Linked DNA regions of Homo sapiens: all the other regions are linked to region 1. The links are contacts of gene promoters, found by promoter capture Hi-C in blood cells and fetal thymus (Javierre and others, 2016). All regions are on one chromosome and are shown on one strand. Each heading gives the region's core, a stretch centred on a gene start or on the middle of the fragment in contact. The rest is flanking DNA. Distances are from core to core; before and after follow the strand shown. Region 1 holds the start of RASA2 (RAS p21 protein activator 2). Region 2 has its middle 5.1 kb from the start of ZBTB38. Region 3 overlaps RASA2 (RAS p21 protein activator 2). Region 4 overlaps ZBTB38 (zinc finger and BTB domain containing 38).

The links. Contacts are between HindIII fragments. The CHiCAGO score rates a contact against its expected background, and 5 or more counts as called.
Region 2: a fragment that was not itself captured here is called in contact with the fragment with the promoter of RASA2 in region 1 in 3 of 17 cell types (total CD8 T cells, activated CD4 T cells and naive CD8 T cells); the score reaches 6.2 in total CD8 T cells.
Region 3: a contact is called between a fragment that was not itself captured here and the fragment with the promoter of RASA2 in region 1, in 2 of 17 cell types (neutrophils and naive CD8 T cells). The highest score is 8.0, in neutrophils.
Region 4: a fragment that was not itself captured here is called in contact with the fragment with the promoter of RASA2 in region 1 in 1 of 17 cell types (total CD8 T cells); the score reaches 5.1 in total CD8 T cells.

Annotation. Positions count from the first base shown.
Region 1 is chr3:141,483,641-141,488,276 of GRCh38, reverse strand. It overlaps RASA2 (RAS p21 protein activator 2), which reads right to left and starts at 1,250. Exons shown (of 24, transcript NM_006506.5): 1 at 1,061-1,250. The coding sequence starts at 1,193. RefSeq lists a silencer at 462-1,341. The HindIII fragment of the contact is 5,296 bases long and covers 1-2,435 here.
Region 2 is chr3:141,361,041-141,365,676 of GRCh38, reverse strand. It overlaps a transcript of ZBTB38 not described here. Among named protein-coding and RNA genes, the nearest start is that of ZBTB38, 5.1 kb to the left of the region's middle. The HindIII fragment of the contact is 5,814 bases long and covers 1-4,636 here.
Region 3 is chr3:141,599,770-141,604,405 of GRCh38, reverse strand. All of the region lies in intron 19 of RASA2 (RAS p21 protein activator 2), which reads right to left. It also overlaps the pseudogene YWHAQP6. Among named protein-coding and RNA genes, the nearest start is that of RASA2-IT1, 77 kb to the right of the region's middle. The HindIII fragment of the contact is 9,060 bases long and covers 1-4,636 here.
Region 4 is chr3:141,385,611-141,390,246 of GRCh38, reverse strand. It overlaps ZBTB38 (zinc finger and BTB domain containing 38), which reads right to left. Exons shown (of 6, transcript NM_001376113.1): 4 at 3,310-3,375. Among named protein-coding and RNA genes, the nearest start is that of ZBTB38, 19 kb to the right of the region's middle. RefSeq lists an enhancer at 2,462-2,691. The HindIII fragment of the contact is 1,618 bases long and covers 1,996-3,613 here.

The sequences.
Region 1 (4,636 bases), core at 1-2,500:
AAGAAAATAATGCTAATTTTCGACAAATGCAAAAATAAATGTTATTGATCTCTCTTACAAACAGAAAACAAAAAGCACTTCATCTAAATAAACCACTGTGAAAAAAAAAATGGCAACCTGACACCAAAGGGTCGTTTTTAAAACTAAAATGTTCAAATGACAGAACTCAAATAATCTGTCCACAGTAATGCTCGGACAACTCTGAGCAAAATTTCGTATTTAGTCAACTGGTAGGCTCGCTCACTAAAGTAGCAATTACACGCATGAGAAGGAAGGGAATTAAGCGGGCTGAGTGCGGGCTGGGTGATTGTGTTTTGAGACCTGCTCACAGGAAGCCACTACATCCTGCCTTTAGTCCCGCCTGTCACGCCGTCCCTCGATTCAAGTCCCGGCCGCAGCGAGGTGGGGCAAGTACAGGTGTCCCGCCGAGCTCCTCCCGGGGCGCTCACCCGCGAACAGACCGCGCGGTAGCCACTCGGGCCCCAGGGCGGCCCGTTTCCTGCAGCTCAGGGCGCCTTTTTCAACCTCTCCCAGGCTCGCCGAGCCCAGGAAACGAACAGCCCCCTCCCCTCGGGCCAGCCCCACTTCCCAGCCCGCCACCTCCTCGGGCCGCGCCTCCGTATAATTACTGCTCGGCTCCCACCGCGGGGCCACTCCCCAGCGCCCGCAGCCGCGCGAAGGCCTGAGTCTGAGGGCGGCCGGAAGCTCCTCACGCCCCCGGACCGCGCCCCCGGCCGCGCCCCGGACTCCAGCGTCCCCGCGTCCAGGCCGCTCCCCACGACCGAGCCCCTCACGCCGGCGCAGCCCGGGCTCTCCCACCCCAGGCCCATCTCCAGCTCCCACTCCCTCCGGAGAGCAGCAGCCCCGGCCCACGCCGCCCCGTCGAGGCGACGCCGCCCCCCAACACACCCCCTTCCAGCCTCAACCGCGCCCGGCCCAGGCCCCCTCCCGGGCCCGCGATCCCAGCGCAGCTCGGCGCCGCCACCGCCGCGAACCCGCCGCCCCCTCAGCCTCGCGCCCAGCGCCGCCAGGGCGTCCCCTCAGCCCAGCCCCCGCTTACAGATCTTGCCCCGCAGGCTCTGCAACACTCGAACCTCGCGACTGTCCTGGTCCCCGGCCTCGGGCTCTGCAGTCGCACTCGCCGCTGGCGCCTCGGAAGAAGCCGCCGCAGCAGCAGGCGCCGCCGCCGCCATGGTGCCGCCCGGCCCGTGCCGCAGCCCTGCCGCCTGCGTAGCCGGGCGAGGCGGAGCCCAGCAGCGGCCTAGGCCCAGGCCAGCCGCGCGCCTGGCCCCGCCCCCGGGCCTCGGCCCGACTCGCCCCGCCCCGCCCCGCCCGCCGCGGCCCCGCCCCCGCCCCCCCCGGGTCTCCATTCACCGCCTTCGCCACCCCCGAGCCGGGCTACCCTGCAGAGAACCGTACTCCCGGCTTGGGGCGCTGGCTAAGGGTAGCTCCCAGTCGTGGCTCTGAGCGGCCTTAAAATCCCCACCAGGAGAACGCCCCGGCCCTCCCGTGATCCCTAAATCCTCCCGGGAATTGGGCTCCCCCAATGAATAGACCTGCACATCTCCTAACGCTCGCGGGAAATACAGGCCCTTCCCAATCAGGGAAACTCCCTGTGGGAAGAAAATAGAATGGAATTTGGCAGGTGGGTGGACCTCAAAAGTATCTTATTCAAAAGGAGGCAAGAGATGCATTTGAGGCTCTTCCAGTATTATCCAAATACTCCCCGCCAGCAAGCCAAACTCCTCCCACACAAATACTCTTTACTAGGACCAATTCTCTGCAAAACCTGGTTCAAGAAAAGGACCAGCCACCCCCAACTCCAGCGTGAGTGCAGTGCCTGAGACCCTCTCATAGAGAAATTCTGAAGCATTTACCATCACTTTTGTATTTCAGGAACAGAAAAAGCAAAGAAGGGCTCCCCCCCGCCACCGCCACCACTACTAAAAGTTGGCTTTGTTAAAAAGTTGACTGACCCTAGGAAATGTGTAAATCTTTGACTAATTGTTAGCTTTATTTCAAGGGAACTCTTTACAGTGAGTAAACTGCATGAATAATACCCTGGTATGTGATGAGGAAGACAATTTCCTGGTGTTGAGGTTGTTAACTACGCTGCCCTAAGAAGGAAGAAACTGTGACTTAATCGGGCAGGGTAATTCTTTTCCAGGGCAACAACAGGAATAAGCCAGTCAGTCAACAAATATTTTTTGAGGGTCAGACATAGTGATGGCCTCAGACCTCAGAGACTACACAAAGGTCAAGATGAAGAGAGCTCCAGCTCATTCTGGAGGGAGACACAGAAAAGGCCAGAGGCACTGGGAGATAAGAAATAGGACGGGGAAACCTGAAAACTGAAGACAAACGCGCCGCCTGTGCAAAGGCTGGACAGCCCCAGAGAATGGTCAGAGTTTAACATGGACCTGGCCAGCGAAGCTTCCAGTTCTGCCTGTGTTGCAGGTGACTTCTATTTCCCCATGTGATCTTTACACTTGTTGGATAAAGTGAACCACTTCCTCTTATATGAATGTTTTGCTGTCATTTCAAACATAAGTCCAAAACTTAATTTCCTGTCTCCCTTTCCAAATCTGAGTTCACATCTTATACTGTTACTCAGGCCAGAAACTTTGACTTTTTCTTATCCCTTGTCCCAATGCTGTTTTCAGTTGCCACATCCTTCTGACTCTGCTGAAATCTCTTCCTTCCTTTCCATTCTCTGTCATTGCCCTTGTTAAAATTATTCTCATTTAAAGAGTATCAACGTGTTACAGGGTTTTTTCCCCCTTATTTTTAAAGGCATCCCTTTTTAGAATCAGACATAGAGCCTGTTTCTACCCCTTTTACATTTGGGCAAGTTACTCAACCTTCCTAAACCTGTTTCTGTTTCTTCTCTTTCTTTCTTTCTTTTTTTTTTTGACAGTCTTGCTCTGTTGCCTAGGCTGGAGTGCAGTGGCACGATCTCAGCTCACTGCAGCTTCAACTTCCTGGGCTCAAGCTATCCTCCCATGTCAGCCTCCTAAGTAGCTGGGACTACAGGTGCGCGCCACCATGTCCAGTTAATTTTTGTATTTTTGGTAGAGATGGGGTTTTGCCATGTTGCCCAGGCTGGTCTTGAACTTCTGGGCTCAAGTGATCCATCCGCGTCAGCCTCCCAAAGTGCTGGGTGTAAGCCACTGCGCCCGGTTGAACCTGTTTCTTTAACAGTAAAGTGGAAATGCTAAACTTTCTTCTTTGAAGGGTTGTTATTAAGATTAAATAAGTATTGGGAGCAGGGTGTTAAGTGTCTAGTGGAATGCTGAGCACGTAGTAGGATTACCTCAGTAACTGACCTCATGCTTTTGACTGGAACTCTGGTAATAAGTCCCCCATCCCTCTCATTCCTCCTACATACCACTTAAATTAACTTTCCTAACAAAAAAAATGGAGCTTATCAGTTGCCTGCTCAAGAGGACATCAGTGGCTTCATTTATCCCTTCAGCCAGCTAGCAAGAGCACACTACAGGTAATGAACAATGCTAGAAATGACTAAAGTTCAAATTCTTCAGCCAAGAGTTGGAACTGGATCCAGCGTACCTGACTCCTCTGATCTCCAGCCACACTGAGCCCCTTTTCTCACCAGCCTGATTCTGGCCTTCCTCCTGCTTGGCCAAGCGATGCCTCATCCATCTATTTCTTTCTCCAATAAACAGAGAAATTATTTGAACCTTTGGACAAATGTATCCATGGATAAAGTATCAATGTACAAATGGACAAATGTATCCAATGGACAAACGTATCCAATGGACAAAGTATCAATATCTTTGTCCATTAGTGTCAAAATCTTCTAACTTCCCTTCCTTTTCACTAGCTTAACCCCAAGTGCATAACTCTGTTACTAAATGGTCACTAAAGGTATGAAAACAATTTTACATAAAGGGACACTCCACTTTTTTGTTCTTCCAGACAGTCTTCCTTTTGCAGATTTCGGACTTATACCGTTTCACTAAAATCCCCAAACTCCATTGCTTTTTCATCCGAAGTCACTTCTAATTATTCTGTTTTTACTGATACTTGCCTACTTTGAAGAGATCTTGGGTAATGTCAATGTTTCCTTAATATAAAATATTTGGAAAATAAAGTTTTCTTTCTTTCTTTCTTTTCTTTTTTTTTTTTTTAAGATGGAGTCTTGCTCTGTTGCCCAGGCTGGAATGCAGTGGCGCGATCTCGGCTCACTGCAAGCTCCGCCTCCCGGGTTCATGCCATCCTCCTGCCTCAGCCTTCCTAGTAGCTGGGACTACAGGCGCCCGCCACTGCGCCCGGCTAATTTTTTTTGTGTTTTTAGTAGAGACGTGGTTTCACTGTGGTCTTGATCTCCTGACCTCGTGATCCACCAGCCTCAGCCTCCTAAAGTGCTGGGATTACAGGCGTGAGCCACCGCGCCCGGCCGAAAATAAAGTTTTCTAAAGACTAACAAGACATACAGTATAATTACGAGAAGGCTGTTACATCTCATTCCCCTTATTGCCCTTGCATTATGTTTTAAATTCATCTAGAGTTCCTCTCTTTTCTTCATGATGTTTAGTAACTGGAACAATATTGCATCATCACAAACTTGAACTTCACTTCCTTCCTCAAATTATTAATGAATGTGTTTAAAGGC
Region 2 (4,636 bases), core at 1,147-3,646, 120 kb after region 1:
TCCTCTTCTGGACATTTTCTACAAATGGAATCATACAATATATGGTTCAAATATTTGTCCTCTCCAAAACTCATGTTGAAATTTAATCTCCAATATGGCAGTACTGAGAGGTGGGGTCTTTCAGAGGTGGTTAATCCACTCATGGATTAATGGATTAATTGGTTAATGGATTAATGGGTTATCACAAGAGAGAGACTTGTGGCTTTATAAGAAGAGGAAGAGGGACCTGAGCTAGCACTCTCAGCCACCTTGCCATGTAATGTCCTGTGTCACCTTGGGACTTGGCAGAGAGTCCGCACCAGCAAGAAGGTCCTCACCAGATGTGATCCCTAGACTTTGGACTTCTCAGCCTTCATAACTGTAAGAAGTGAATTTCTTTTCTTTATAAATTACCCAGGTTCAAGTGTTCTGTTTAAGCAACAGCAAATGAACTAAGGCATAGAATACTTTAGTACTTCTTTCCTTTTTATGCCCAAATAATATTCCACTGTGTGGGTATACAACATTTTGTTTATCCAAATCTCAGTTGATGAACACTTGAGTTGTTTTCACTTTTTGGCTGTTATGAATAATGTTGCTATGAACATTCATGTGCAAGTTTTTTTTTTGTGGACATGCATTCATGTCTCTTGGGTAGACACAAAAGAGTGGGATTGCTGAGTGATATCGTACTATGTTTAACATTTTGAGAAACTATCAAACTGTTTTCCAAAGTGCTGCATCATTTTACATTCTCACTAGCAATTTATGAGGGTTCTGATTTCCCCACATCCTCACCAATGCTGTTATTGCCTGTCTTTTTTATTATAGCCATCCTAGTGGGTACAATGTGATATCTCATTGTGATTTTGAACTGCATTTAACAAATGACTAATGATGTTGAGTGTGTTTTCAGGAGCTTATTGGTCACTTGTATATCTTCTTTGGAGAACTGTCTATTCAAATCCTTTATCTTTCAAATTGGGCTTTTTTTTTTTTTTTTTTTTTTTTTTTTTTTTTTAGATGTAGTTTCCCTCTTATTGCCTCAGCTGGAGTGCAATGGCACAATCTCAGCTCACCACAACTTCCACCTCCCGGGTTCAAGCGATTCTCCTGCCTCAGCCTCCCGAGTAGCTGGGATTACAGGCATGTGCCACCACACCTGGCTTATTTTGTATTTTTAGTAGAGATGGAGTTTCTCTATGTTGGTCAGGCTGGTCTTGAACTCCCGACCTCAGGTGATCTCCCTGCCTCAGCCTCCCAAAGTGCTGGGATTACAGGTGTGAGCCACCTGGACTAAAATTTTTTTTTTAAAGTTTTCAGTTTTAGGGATTCTTTATATATCCCAGACACAAGTCCCTTATCAGATATATTTTACAATATTATCTCCCTGTCTATGGTTGTCATTTCATTTCTGGTTGGTGTTATTTGAAGCATAAAAATTTTTAATTTTGATGAAGTCCAACTGGTCTTGAACTCCCGACCTCAGGTGATCTGCCTGCCTCAGCCTCCCAAAGTGCTGGGATTACAGGCGTGAGCCACCACACTCGGCCTAATTTTTTTTTTTAAATTTTTGAGTTTTAGGGATTCTTTATATACCCCAGACAAAAGTCCCTTACCAGATATATATTTTACAATATTATCTCCCTGTCTATGGTTGTCATTTCTTTTCTGGTTGGTGTTATTTGAAGCATAAAAGTTTTTAATTTTGATAAAGTCCAACTTATCAATCTTCTCTTTCATCACTTGTACTTTTGGCATCATATTTGAGAAAACATTATCTAACCCAAGGTCATGAAGATTTACACCTGAGTTTTCTTCTGAGAGTTTTATAGTTTTAGTTCTTACATTTAGATCTATGATACACTTTAAGTTAATTTTGCCTATGGTGTGAGGTAGGGATCCACATTCATTCTTTTCATGTGGCTATCTGGTTGTCCCATAACTATTTGTTGAAAAGATTATTCTTACAATAATTCTGTACATATAAAACTATTCTAAAATAAAGAGTTTATTTAAAAAACTATTCTAAAATAAAGAGTTTATTTATTTTTCCCTCTATTGAATTGTCTTGGCCCCTTTGTCAAAAATCAACTGACCATAAATATTAATATTTATTCTTGGACTCTTAATTCTATTCCATTGATTTAGATATCTATTGTCATGTCAGTACCACACTGTTTTGATTACTATAGCTTCATATTATGTTTGGAAATTAGGAAGTGTGAGTCCACCAACTTTGTTCTCTTTCAAAATCGTTTGGCTATTCTGGATCCCTTGCATTGCCATATGATTTTTAGGATCAGCTTCTCAATTTCTGCAAAAAATACAGCTGGGGTTTTGATAGATGTTAAATGGTACCTGCAGATCAATTTTGGGAGTAATCCCATATTAGCAATATTCAGTCATCTGATTCATAAACCTAGGAAACCTTCTCATTTATTTAGATCTTTGATTTATTTCAGCAATGTTTTGTTGTTTTCAGTGTACAAGTCTTGCAATTCTTTTGTTAAATTTATTCTCGAGTATTTTATTAACTGGTATTGTTTATACTGGGAATCATCTATGCTCACGGACTTAAGAGCTTGTGCTTTCATGATCAAAAGTCTTAAGTCCCAGTCCTGGTTTCACTATTTATTAGCTGCATGTAATGTAAGGTTACTTAGACTGTATCAAGTTCTTTTTCTTCATCTGAGAAAAAGGAAATACTAATACCACCTCATGGGTTTGTTATGCAGATTAAATAAGATAATGCATATGTAACCCTATTCAGACCATGACCTACAGGGTGCAGTCTTGGGGTGGGGGGCAGGGTTGCAGCCCAAGAAACCCAGTCTAGTCACCAAAAGTAATTTCTAATTAACTCATATTAATACTTGCATTTCTCAAACATCACAAAGAGCCCCTTCAATTCCCCTCAGCATCCTTTTCCCCTCCTATCCAAGCCTCTTACACCCCATAGCTTCTGCCTCCCTTTCTTTCTCCCAAACTCCCTGAAATCTTTTCTCCAGTCCTAATCAGCCTTCCTCTGGTCCTTCCGCTCTGTCCAGTTCTTCTTCTGTTGGGGCAGAAAAAGAAATTGGACAAACAAAGCCAGAACTCTTGTTAGTGGGCAGGAAGAGAAGAAAATCAGGGAACACTTAAACTTAATTTATGTCCTATCACTCATGTAAAGTGCTTAGTGCAATGTCTGATATATAATAATGGCTCAATAAATGTTGGATTAAAAATGTTTTTTGTGCTGGTGGTCATTTTATGCTATCTATATTTTATGTTATCTATTTTATGTTAATGATGTGGGGGGTTTAGATCATAACCTCTGAGAATCCAGTCTAGAGGTTGCTACCCAATGGCCCATCCTCACTCATTTGGGTGAATTTTGGGAATTCAAATTTGGAATTATTGTTCTCTTTTCTTCCTCCTGAATCACGCCTCAGAGAATCAGCCCTTGGAAAACTATAAAACTTGTAAAAAGTTCATCTTTAGGGATCCTTGAATACTGTTCGGAGGACACATCTGTTTCCTCCCTAGACCAGCTCCAGGACCCTAAACTCTTTCCCCTCCACAAAACCTTCTAGTATAATACCTTCAAGTGCAGGTCAGGACTCATTATTTAGTGGGTCAGCATGGGTTGCAAGTGATAGAATAAAATAAAACAATAGAAAAGATCCAAGTACATTATAACTAACACTTTCGTTTCGATTTTATAATATGTATGTGAGCTGGGTCTCTCTGTGAAACATATTTTCTATTGTGGTTCAGGGTTTTAAAAAAATGTTTAAAAACCAGTGTTGTAGATCCCTCACTTTCGCTGAGGTGTATAAACAACTCATCAGAGCATAAAGTAAACTCCTCTTAGTGATCTGTCCACTTTTATAGGGATGGAGACCTTAAGTCCTAGGGATGAAGCTCCATCAGTAGTGAAGTATTTGGGGGCACTGAGGCTCTTTCCTGTAATTTACAACACTTGGAGAAGGAGTAACTTCTGTTTGCTGTCTGGACCTACCCTGCTCCCTCATGCTACCCCATAGCCATCCCCTTCTCTCATTCCCACAATATCTACACATTCACACCTTGAACTTGTTGTGGGGTTTTCTATTTTTCAAGACTCTTTCACTTTCTCCATCTCTTCTGGTTTTCACAACTATTCTATGAAGTTGATGGGTCAGACGCAAGTCCTTGCTTGACCACTTAACATACTGTGTGACCTTAACTTCTCAGCCTCAGCTTCCTCAGTTCTGTTATCTATATAAAACCAGAGAAGTCAAGAAATTTGGCCAACATCACACAGCCCAGAAGTGGCAGGACCAGGAACAGAACTAGATTTTCCACCTCCCAGCCTGGTTGTCCTGCAGGCTCCGCTTATGGAAATGCACATCTTTTTTTAGAGGCATGATTCATCTGACTACCTTACAAAGAATGTTTAAAAAGCAGAGAATATTTTGCCCTCCCCTCCCCGCCATATCTAAAAACACTGACTTTTATGGCACCAGGCACAAGACAAACAACTCTTCATGCTTCGTGGTAAGGGGTTATCACACTCAACATCAAAGACTATTTATTTAAGGCTGGGGCGGTCAGAAACAGAAACAAAGTCAAGAGGAGAGGAAAACAAAGTTCCCTGAGTGCTCTGTTTTTGTCCTTTGTGTAGCAGAGT
Region 3 (4,636 bases), core at 831-3,330, 120 kb before region 1:
TTTTAATTTGTTAACAATTTAAAAAGTAAAAATAGGATAGTCAAGTTTCCTCACTAGATAGAGACAGAAAGATAGAGTGCAAACACCCATATATGCTCAACTATTCCAATAAAAAGGAAGGGAAAAATAAACCCAAGAAACAGAAAAGACTAGTAAATAGAAAACACAAAACAAAGTAGTAGTAATGGTAATCACAATAAATGTGAGTGCATTAAATTTCCTACTAAATGGCTGAAATCAGGTTTTAAAGTTGTCATTACCTCCTAATTAAACAGAAATACCCTATTAACTCACTGATTACACTCCTACGTATATACCATGAGAGCTGAAGACACATCCACACAAAAACTTGTAAATGAATGTTCACAACTGCATTGTTCATAATAGCCAAAAACCAAAAACAACCTAAATGTCCATCAACTGGTGAATGAATAAACAAAATGTGGTATTATCTGTAAAAGAGAATATGATTCAGCCATGAAAATAAAGTACTGATTCATGCTACAACATGAATGAACCTCCAAAACATTATGCTGAGTGAAAGATGTTAGTCACAAAAGGCTACATATGATTCCATGTACATGAAATGTCTAGAATGGGCAAATCTATAGAGACAGAAAGTATATTAGTGGTTGTCAGAGGCTGGGAGAAGGGAGGAATGGGGAGTGACTGTTAATGGGTATAGGGTTTCTTTTTGGGTGGTGAAAATGCTTTGGAATTAGTGGCAATTGCGCAACACTATGAATATCTTGAAAACCAATCAACTGTATACCTTAAAAGGGTGAATTTTATGGTATGTGAATTATATCTAAATTTTATTTTTTATTTTTTTTTGAGACAGAGTTTTGCTCTCATCACCCAGGCTGGAGTACAATGGCATGATCTCGGCTCACTGCAATCTCCACCTCCTGGGATCAAACGATTCTCCTGCCTCAGCCTCCTGAGTAGCTGGGATTACAGGCGCCCACTACCACACTTGGCTAATTTTTGTATTTTCAGTAGAGATGGAGTTTCACCATGTTGGCCAGGCTGGTCTCGAACTCCTGACCTCAGGTGATCCACCCGCCTTGGCCTCCTAAAGTAGTGGGATTACGGGCCTGAACCACTGTGCCTGGCCTAAATTTAAAAAAATACAATTACCACCACAATAAAAATGAATGTCCAACTACATATTGGCCCCAAGGGACACAGCTAAAACAATGTTACCATGACTGTATTTTTGATAATAGTGTTAAGAAAGATGGGTGTATAAAACTGGGCAAATTGTTAAAAACAACTTCAGGGCACGGGAAAACAACCAACGGTGATAAGTTTACTCATGAAAAACCGCATAGGGTAAGAACTGTGGATTTATGGTCTTCCTACCTGGGGGTGTTTCCATTATCCCCAAGTTAGGCAATGAAAATACAAGTTTTACTGGCTGGAGGTTACAGATTCCATTTAAGGATGAAATCTGGAAGCAAGAGGGCTATGAAAGCCTGATAATAAACTTGCCAGATCCCTGCCTGACTGCTAACGTAGGCATGTATGTGGAATATCCCAGAGTCTGGCAAAAACTGAAAGCCTGGGGAGACGTCAATTTGCTGTGACTCTGAATGTATTCTCTAATCCACACACAGCTCAGATGACAGAGGGTGGAAGCCTTTGAGGTATTTGAGCTGCCTGCTCAATTCATTTGTTGACCACTAAACTAATCAAGTTCAGGTGAGGCCCCCTAGGGAGCTAGCTAGGGTTAGAGGGAAACATCTGAACAGAGAGATACACTGTAAGTAAGAGAGAGAGACTGCAGTTTTAGTCTAGGCAAGCATTCAGAACAAACCAAATGCAGACACACTACAGTGTACTATCTAAAAGAGGGGTCCCCAAAATCTGGACCATAGACTGGTACTGGTCAGTGGCCTGTTAGGAACTGGGCCACCCAGCAGGAGCAGCAGTGGGTGGGCAAGCAAGCATTACTACCTGAGTTCTGCCTCCTGTCAGATAAGGGTGGCATGAGATCACAAGAGTGCAAATCCTATTGTGAAACGAGCATGCAACAGATCTAGGTTGTGCACTCCTTATGAGAATCTAATGCCTGATGATCTGAGGTAAAACAATTTCATCCCAAATACATGACCCCCCACCAGTCCGTGGAAAAATTGTCTTCCATGAAACTGGTCCTTGGTGACAAAAAGGTTGGGGACTGCTGATCTTAAAAATGTCTAGCTTTTAATAAGAAAGTAAGACATATAAAAAAACAGGAAAGTGTGACACATAACTTGGGAAAGAAGGCAGCCAACTAAAACTGATTCTGAATGGGTCCAGATACTGAATTTAGCAGCCTAAGACTTCAAAGCAGTTACTCTAAATATGCTGAAATAATTCAATAAAAATATACTAATAGCAACTGAACATATATAGGCTCTCAACAGAAAAATCTAAAGTACAAAGAGAACTAAATGGAAATTCTGGAGCTGAAAAGTACAACAGATGAATGAAAAATTCACATGAGCTAAATCAGTGAACTTAAGTAAAAATGATCTGATTTGGAGACCAAAGAGAATAAAAGAAAAATGAACTGAGTCTCAGTGAGATCCATGAGACAATTTATCAGCATAAATTGGAGGATCCCTAGAAGAAAAAGGGGAGAAATTTGAAGAAATAAGTCAAAAAAGTCCCAAATTTGGTGAAAAACATTATCTTATGGTTCAAAAAATTCAACAAACCCCAACAAGCTCTTGAAAAATTTCAACCACCAAGTAATACATTTTATGGTCATCATATTAAAAAAAGAAAAAGGAATCACAATGAATAATGGAGAAAATACATCTTTCTTTTCAATGAAGTCCAATTCATTTAAGAAAAATGTTCAGTGCTTTTAATGTTCTCTTCAAGAAATCCTAGCATATCATGGTTTCGAAGATATTTTTCCACATTTTCTTTGAGGTCTATGATTCTATCATCTTTTTTTTTTCTTTTTTTTTGGAGACAGTGGAGACAGTCTCTCTCTGTTGCCCAGGCTGGAGCGCAGTGATGCCATCTCGGCTCACAGCAACTTCTGCCTCCCGAGTTCAAGCATTCAAGTGATTCTCGGACCTCAGCTTCCTGAGTAGCTGGGATTACAGCCGTGGGCCACCATGCACAGCTAATTTTTGTATTTTTAATACAAACGGGGTTTCACCATATTGCCCAGGCTGGTCTTGAACTCTTGAGATCAGGCAATCTGTCTGCCGCAGCCTCTCAAAGTGCTAGGGTACAGGTGTGAGCCACTGTGCCCGGCCCCATCATCTTAAATTAAATTTTGTGTTGTGTGAGGTGGGGTAAAGTTCATTTCCCCTCCATGTTTATCAGGGTCGTTCCTGCACCATATGTTAAAAAGCCTTTTCTTTCCCTACTGAATTGCCTTGACAGCTTTGTTAAAACGGAATTGGCCATATTTATGTGTGTGTTTCTTTCTGCTCTGTCCATTGATCTCTTTCTCTCTTATCCTAAACCTACAATCTTGATTACTGCAGCTTTACAGTAAGTCTTTAAATTAGCTCTCAACTTTGTTTTACCTTTCAACATTGCTTTGGCTATGGTTAAGACCTTTATTTTTCCATCCATGTAAATTCTGGAATCAACTTGTCCATTTTTATTTTAAAAACTGGCTGGGATTTGGAGTGGGATTGTGTTAAAATCGAGATGAATTCAGGGAGATGTGGCTTCTTAAAAAATACTTATCTAAAAGGCAGATCAAAGTGGTGGGACTCTAGTTGTGGCCACGGAGATGTGAAGCTCTGAAGGACTCCTCCTGCTCCGGGTCGGCGCTTGCCCTTGCTCTCTTTGCCCTCTGCCCTGCACCCGTCAAGGAGAAGAGGGAGCTGATCCTGAAGGCCAAGCTGGCCAAGCAGGCAGAGCACTACGATGACATGGCCACCTGCATGAAGGCTGTGACCAAGTAGGTCGCCGAGCTGTCTAATAAGGAGCGCAACCTGCTCCTTATTAGAATGTGGTCGGGGGCTGCAGGTCCGCCTGGAGGCTCATCTTGAACATTGAGCAGAAGACTGACACCTCCGACAAGAACCCTCATCATGCAATTGCTTAGAGACAACCTAACACTTTGGACATCAGACAGTGCAGGAGAAGAATGTGAGGCAGTAGAAGGGGCTGAAAACTAAATACATACAGGGTGTCCTCCTTCTTTCCTTCAAGAAACCTTTTTACACATCTCCATTCCTTATTCCACTTGGATTTCCTATAGCAAAGAAACCGATTCATGTGTTTGGAGTCAACTGTTTTTAGTCTTTTCACACTGCAGCTTTGGGAAAACTTCATTCCCTGATTTGTGTTTGTCTTGGCCTTCCTGGTGTGCAGTTACTGCTGTAGAAAAATATTAATAGCTTCATTTCATATAAACGTAAGTAACTTCCACACACTTATGTAGAGGACTAAAAATGTATCTGGTATTTAAGTAATCTGAAACAGTTCTGCAAGTGACTGTGTTTTGTATTACTGTGAAGATATAAAAATGTAGTTAATTACAATTTAAAGAGTGTTCTACATAACTTAATTTCTACATTCCCTCCCTTACTCTTCGAGGGTTTCCTTTCAATAAGCAATTTTTCCATGCTCTTAATGTATTCCTTTTTAGTAGGAATCCAGAAGTATTAGACTG
Region 4 (4,636 bases), core at 1,555-4,054, 100 kb after region 1:
CATCCTCTACAATCATCAAGAAGCATTTTCAGCTAATCTTGGAAATTCAATAATAATTGTAAATGGGTAAGTTTAGGAAAGCTTTGTGCCTTGTCAAGATTGCTGTGAAATATGAAGGCAAAGTATTAAGGTGAAACACAACGAAGTAATATATAGTAATTATTATTCTATTCACTGGTTTATTTATTAGAATGACGATGGTACGATACACTTCCCAACAATCTTATTTGGCTTTCTAGATCCTTGAATTGGGTTTAAAATTCTTTTAGGCAAGACTAAGAGCAACATAAGTGAATAATGCCACAAAAAAACGCCATTAAGTATGAAAATCTACAAGATGACGCAACCATGCTTGAGTCACAAACAAAAGAATCGACATTCTATAAAGAAGAAATACACTGTTGAATCTATCAGGCATTCATTTTAATGGTAAAACAATTGCATTGCATCCATCTAATCTTGTAATTAAGATTCAAATAGGTGCAAAATGATTACTTTGTACTGGCCTATCAAAATAGAAGACATTGTAGTTATAAGCTTTCTGACTAGCAGTAGTGTTTTAATTATAAATGCCTGGCTCATTATTTGCTCAAGAGCGAATGACAATTAGCTTGATCCTATTGCAACTGTTAATGCTGTTGGTACTAAAAAAAATAGGCAATATTGAATCAGGTTTCTGATATTTCCCTTCAGTTTACAATCTTCTGATTGATACTATATTCAAAATGTACTTAGTCATTTAAAGTCACAGGCAAGAAGGAAAATGGCTCCCAACAGCCAAAAAAAAAAAAAAAAAAGGTGTTGCAGGAAGGGTATTTCATGGCAAGCCTGGAGAACAAAATCAGTATGAGATGAATCACGTTCCAAAATAATTGAACCAGAGAAAGACTCCAAGCAAAATATTTTAGTTGGCCACAAAACAACATGACAACAACCACCACCACCCTTCAGCCCATTAGAGAGGTTCAATTCTACGATAGTGCTATGGAATAGAATATTAGTTAAACTGCTAGAATAAAGCAGCCATTTACACAGATGGTTTTGAATCTCAATGTTCTTCACATTGAAGCAAACCTCGGGGAGGTTTCAGGTTTAGCACCATCTTCCTAACACACCTATAGAGATATTTCCACAAAGGTTCAGGGTGCACTTGTCATTGGAGGGGTAGGCTTGGATGTGGGTCCTTTTCTACCGACAGCACTGAGGTTACCAACGGAGGGATCAGGGAAGGCAAGAGTACAAGCATTTTCTGATTCTCAGAATTTCTGAAATACCTTTTGTTTCAGTGGCGCTGGTGAACTTGTGATAATGAAACTACACCTCTGTACACAAACCTTGACCTGCATTCTGGAGCATACTGCAAAGAAAACCTTAATTTTGAAAGTACTGAGCACAAAGGAGGGAGAGAAAAGCTGTCACTGTGCAAGCTTTCTCTATATGTTTAGAAACATGGCTTAATTTTTAAGGCTTGAAGACCGCATTAAAAACCATCTAAAACCAGTTCAGATTCTATATGAGAGGAAAAAGAACTGTAAATTTTTCATTAAACATTTGTTTCCTTTTTAAAGACATTCTTTTGCATATCTGTTATTACATGTTTAAATACGATTTGGTTACCAAGGAAACAGGTTCTGGCCCAGTGTTAAATTTGAAACTAAAATATATTTGAGAAGTTAAGTTCAAAAGAAAGAGCTCATGAAATTATTTTGAAAAGTGCCAGAACCACAGCTATATGGTCTGCAATGAACCATTCTAGGGGCTCGGTTTCATTTAGTGAAGCTCTATTTCTTTTAAGAGGGCCATCTATATTTAATATTTCCCTCTTTAAAAATTGTAACTCCTCATCCCCCCAAATTATATACATAATATAATGTATTCTTGTATATTACCTAAAATTAATTTTGGAAGCATATCAGTTTTTATTTTCATCTTTCATAAACACGTTTAAAGACCGCTTCTTAAAATTTAAATATTTTTAATGTTTCTTATTAAGCTTGTTTACGCTCTTTGAAATCATCTCCAGAAACCCATTTATTTTTAGTTTCAAGCTGAAATGGAGCTGAATCATCACTCTTTTCAAAAAATTCTTTTGTTGTCTAATGGCACCACACCTATCATATATATGATTTTTTTTTAAAAAAAATCTCCCTTTTATGGCAGAATCATTTACTAAGTTTGTAAAAGCTATACATTTATATACTATCTGAATAGCAGAGGCTGTCCAATTAAAAACCCTCCCCCAAAAGATTACAGCTGTCTTATTTAATTTTTGTTTTTTTAAAAGTCATATTCTAATGCATCTAATGTTCTTGCTGCATGGCTCAAAAAAAACTATAAAAACATGCAAATTTCAACCTACCTGTATGCATCACTTAATGCAGTGCTAGCATGACAAGACACTCAGCCATTTTTATGTAAAGCGATGGAGACCAACTGATTTCTCTGTCTTCTTGCTCACAAGTTTTAGATGCAATTGTCACATACACACAAAAATCATACGCAGAACAGCTTGAATGAACTGTGATCACAGAACTGAATTTATCAACAGGAAAACAGGATTGAAAAAAGAAGTTTCTCATCCAAGGTTTTTCTGAGACTGCAACCAAGGAGGTGGTGTGTTGAATTTTTTTCCCCTTCCTCCTCTGAGAGTTCAAAGCTCGGAGCTGACCACTGCAAAGGCCACTGTCACATTTGCTGAAAATCAAACCACTGATACCAGCATTGAAAATACAAATTTGAGAACCCAAGTTGCTTGCACATGATGGAGTGCATAAGAGTTAAAAATAGAATCCACCTTGCCTCCTACCTGCATAATAAACATGTAAGTTTCAAGTGTTTAATTTGATATTCACATTAATTAACAATACAACATACATTATTTAAAAGACAGCAAATGCACGAAGAAAGGAGAGACACCATCTGGTAGCAGAGTTTTGTTGTTGTTGTTTTTGTTTTTAGGGTTTGTGGGGGGTTTTGGTTTTGTTAAAAAAAAAAAGGTAAAATCATATTTTGAATGTGATGAAAAACAAACATCCAGAAGCAAATGAATTGGAAATGAAAGGTGATGTTGAAATATCTAAGGCTGTAATGAGGCAAAAACAAGTCTTCGCTACCAGATGATATGGCATACAGAGCATTTACATACTCACATCTGAAATACTAGGCAACGTGTAATGAATTCTAGACACAGCATGCACACACAGCACAAGCACGGCTAATCCTGCCTGCCATCTTAGGCTCGCAGAAGCAAGATACGCACTGCATGCAGCACACGAGCACTGGGGAAGGAGGAGGCAAGGGACAGCTCACCTTAAATGCAGTATCTGATTAATGTTGTAAGTGACATTGCATATCAGCCTCAGAGTCTTGGTTCAACTGGGTAGGAGGGAACAAAGAAAAATGTCATCAACTGGTGATGCAAGATGAGCCCAATCACTAAACACTGTTTAGTAAACTCCAAATTCTGCAACCAGACAGAAGGCATTTCATACACTTAAGCAGAGCTGCTCCACAATGAATGTGTCCTTCTGCTTCTGAGAATCAAACAATCCTTTTGCTAAGGAAGAAAATAAGCTGGAAAGAACACTCTCATATTCTCTTCCTGAAGAAAGCTTTCAATACAGTATGTATCTGGTCCGGGATGCATTTTATAGATGTTAATTTTATAGAATTGCTAAGAAAAAACCAAAACTGTTAAGCTCTTGCAAAGTAAAAAATAATTTTGATAAAGGGTATAGCATTTCTAGATTATTTTTCAAAATCCTAAATGGTGCCGGCAGGCTTGTAGAAAAATGCATGATCAGCTGTCTGTATCCGTGCTATAACCTTTAACCACAAGCAGTGTAAATGTATCCTGCTAAATGTATCTGCAGTACAGAGCGGCAGATACCGCCTCAGAATTTTATTAAAATGTGAATGGATTTTTTAAAACTTGGAAGCAGAATAAAATCAGAACAGAAAAATAAATTGATGCTGAATTCCTCTGGCTGTATAGCTGACCATCATGAACGATTAAAGCTATCCTTAGGATACTGACCTAAATAATACTAAGACTTACAGCAGCATACTGTATGCGTTCAGAACACAGAAAATGCAAAATGATTTATCTTCTCCCTCCCCCTCCAAAAGCTAAATTTTAAAGTAACAAGCCATTAATAGGAATACCAAAAGGCTATAGATAGTACATACTGTAAGAGAAGAAATCGTGTTGTGCTGAGATGCAATGTTTCTTTGTTTTACTTTGAGGCTTATTTTAGCTATGCTTGCATGATGACATTGACATCAGGAGGTCAGTGCTGACACTGGGTTGATATCCGTTTTATGAGTGAAATGTTTTCCGAAAATTAAATCTCATCTACTCAAACACCAAATTTCATGTCATCTTCAAAACCACCTCCCTACCCCCACTGCTCAAGATTGATGGGATCTAGTTTGGTGGTATGTAATAAATTGGAATCACCTTCTGCAGATAGTTCAATATGTAATGGTGAGGAATTAATTTTTTAAATAAAAAACATTCAAGAATTCTTATGCACCCCCTTTCATTCCTTCCTATCAACACACGCGCACACACACACACACACACACACACACACACTCAAAGCTCGAATTGCAATGAAATGTTTAACATGTGGAA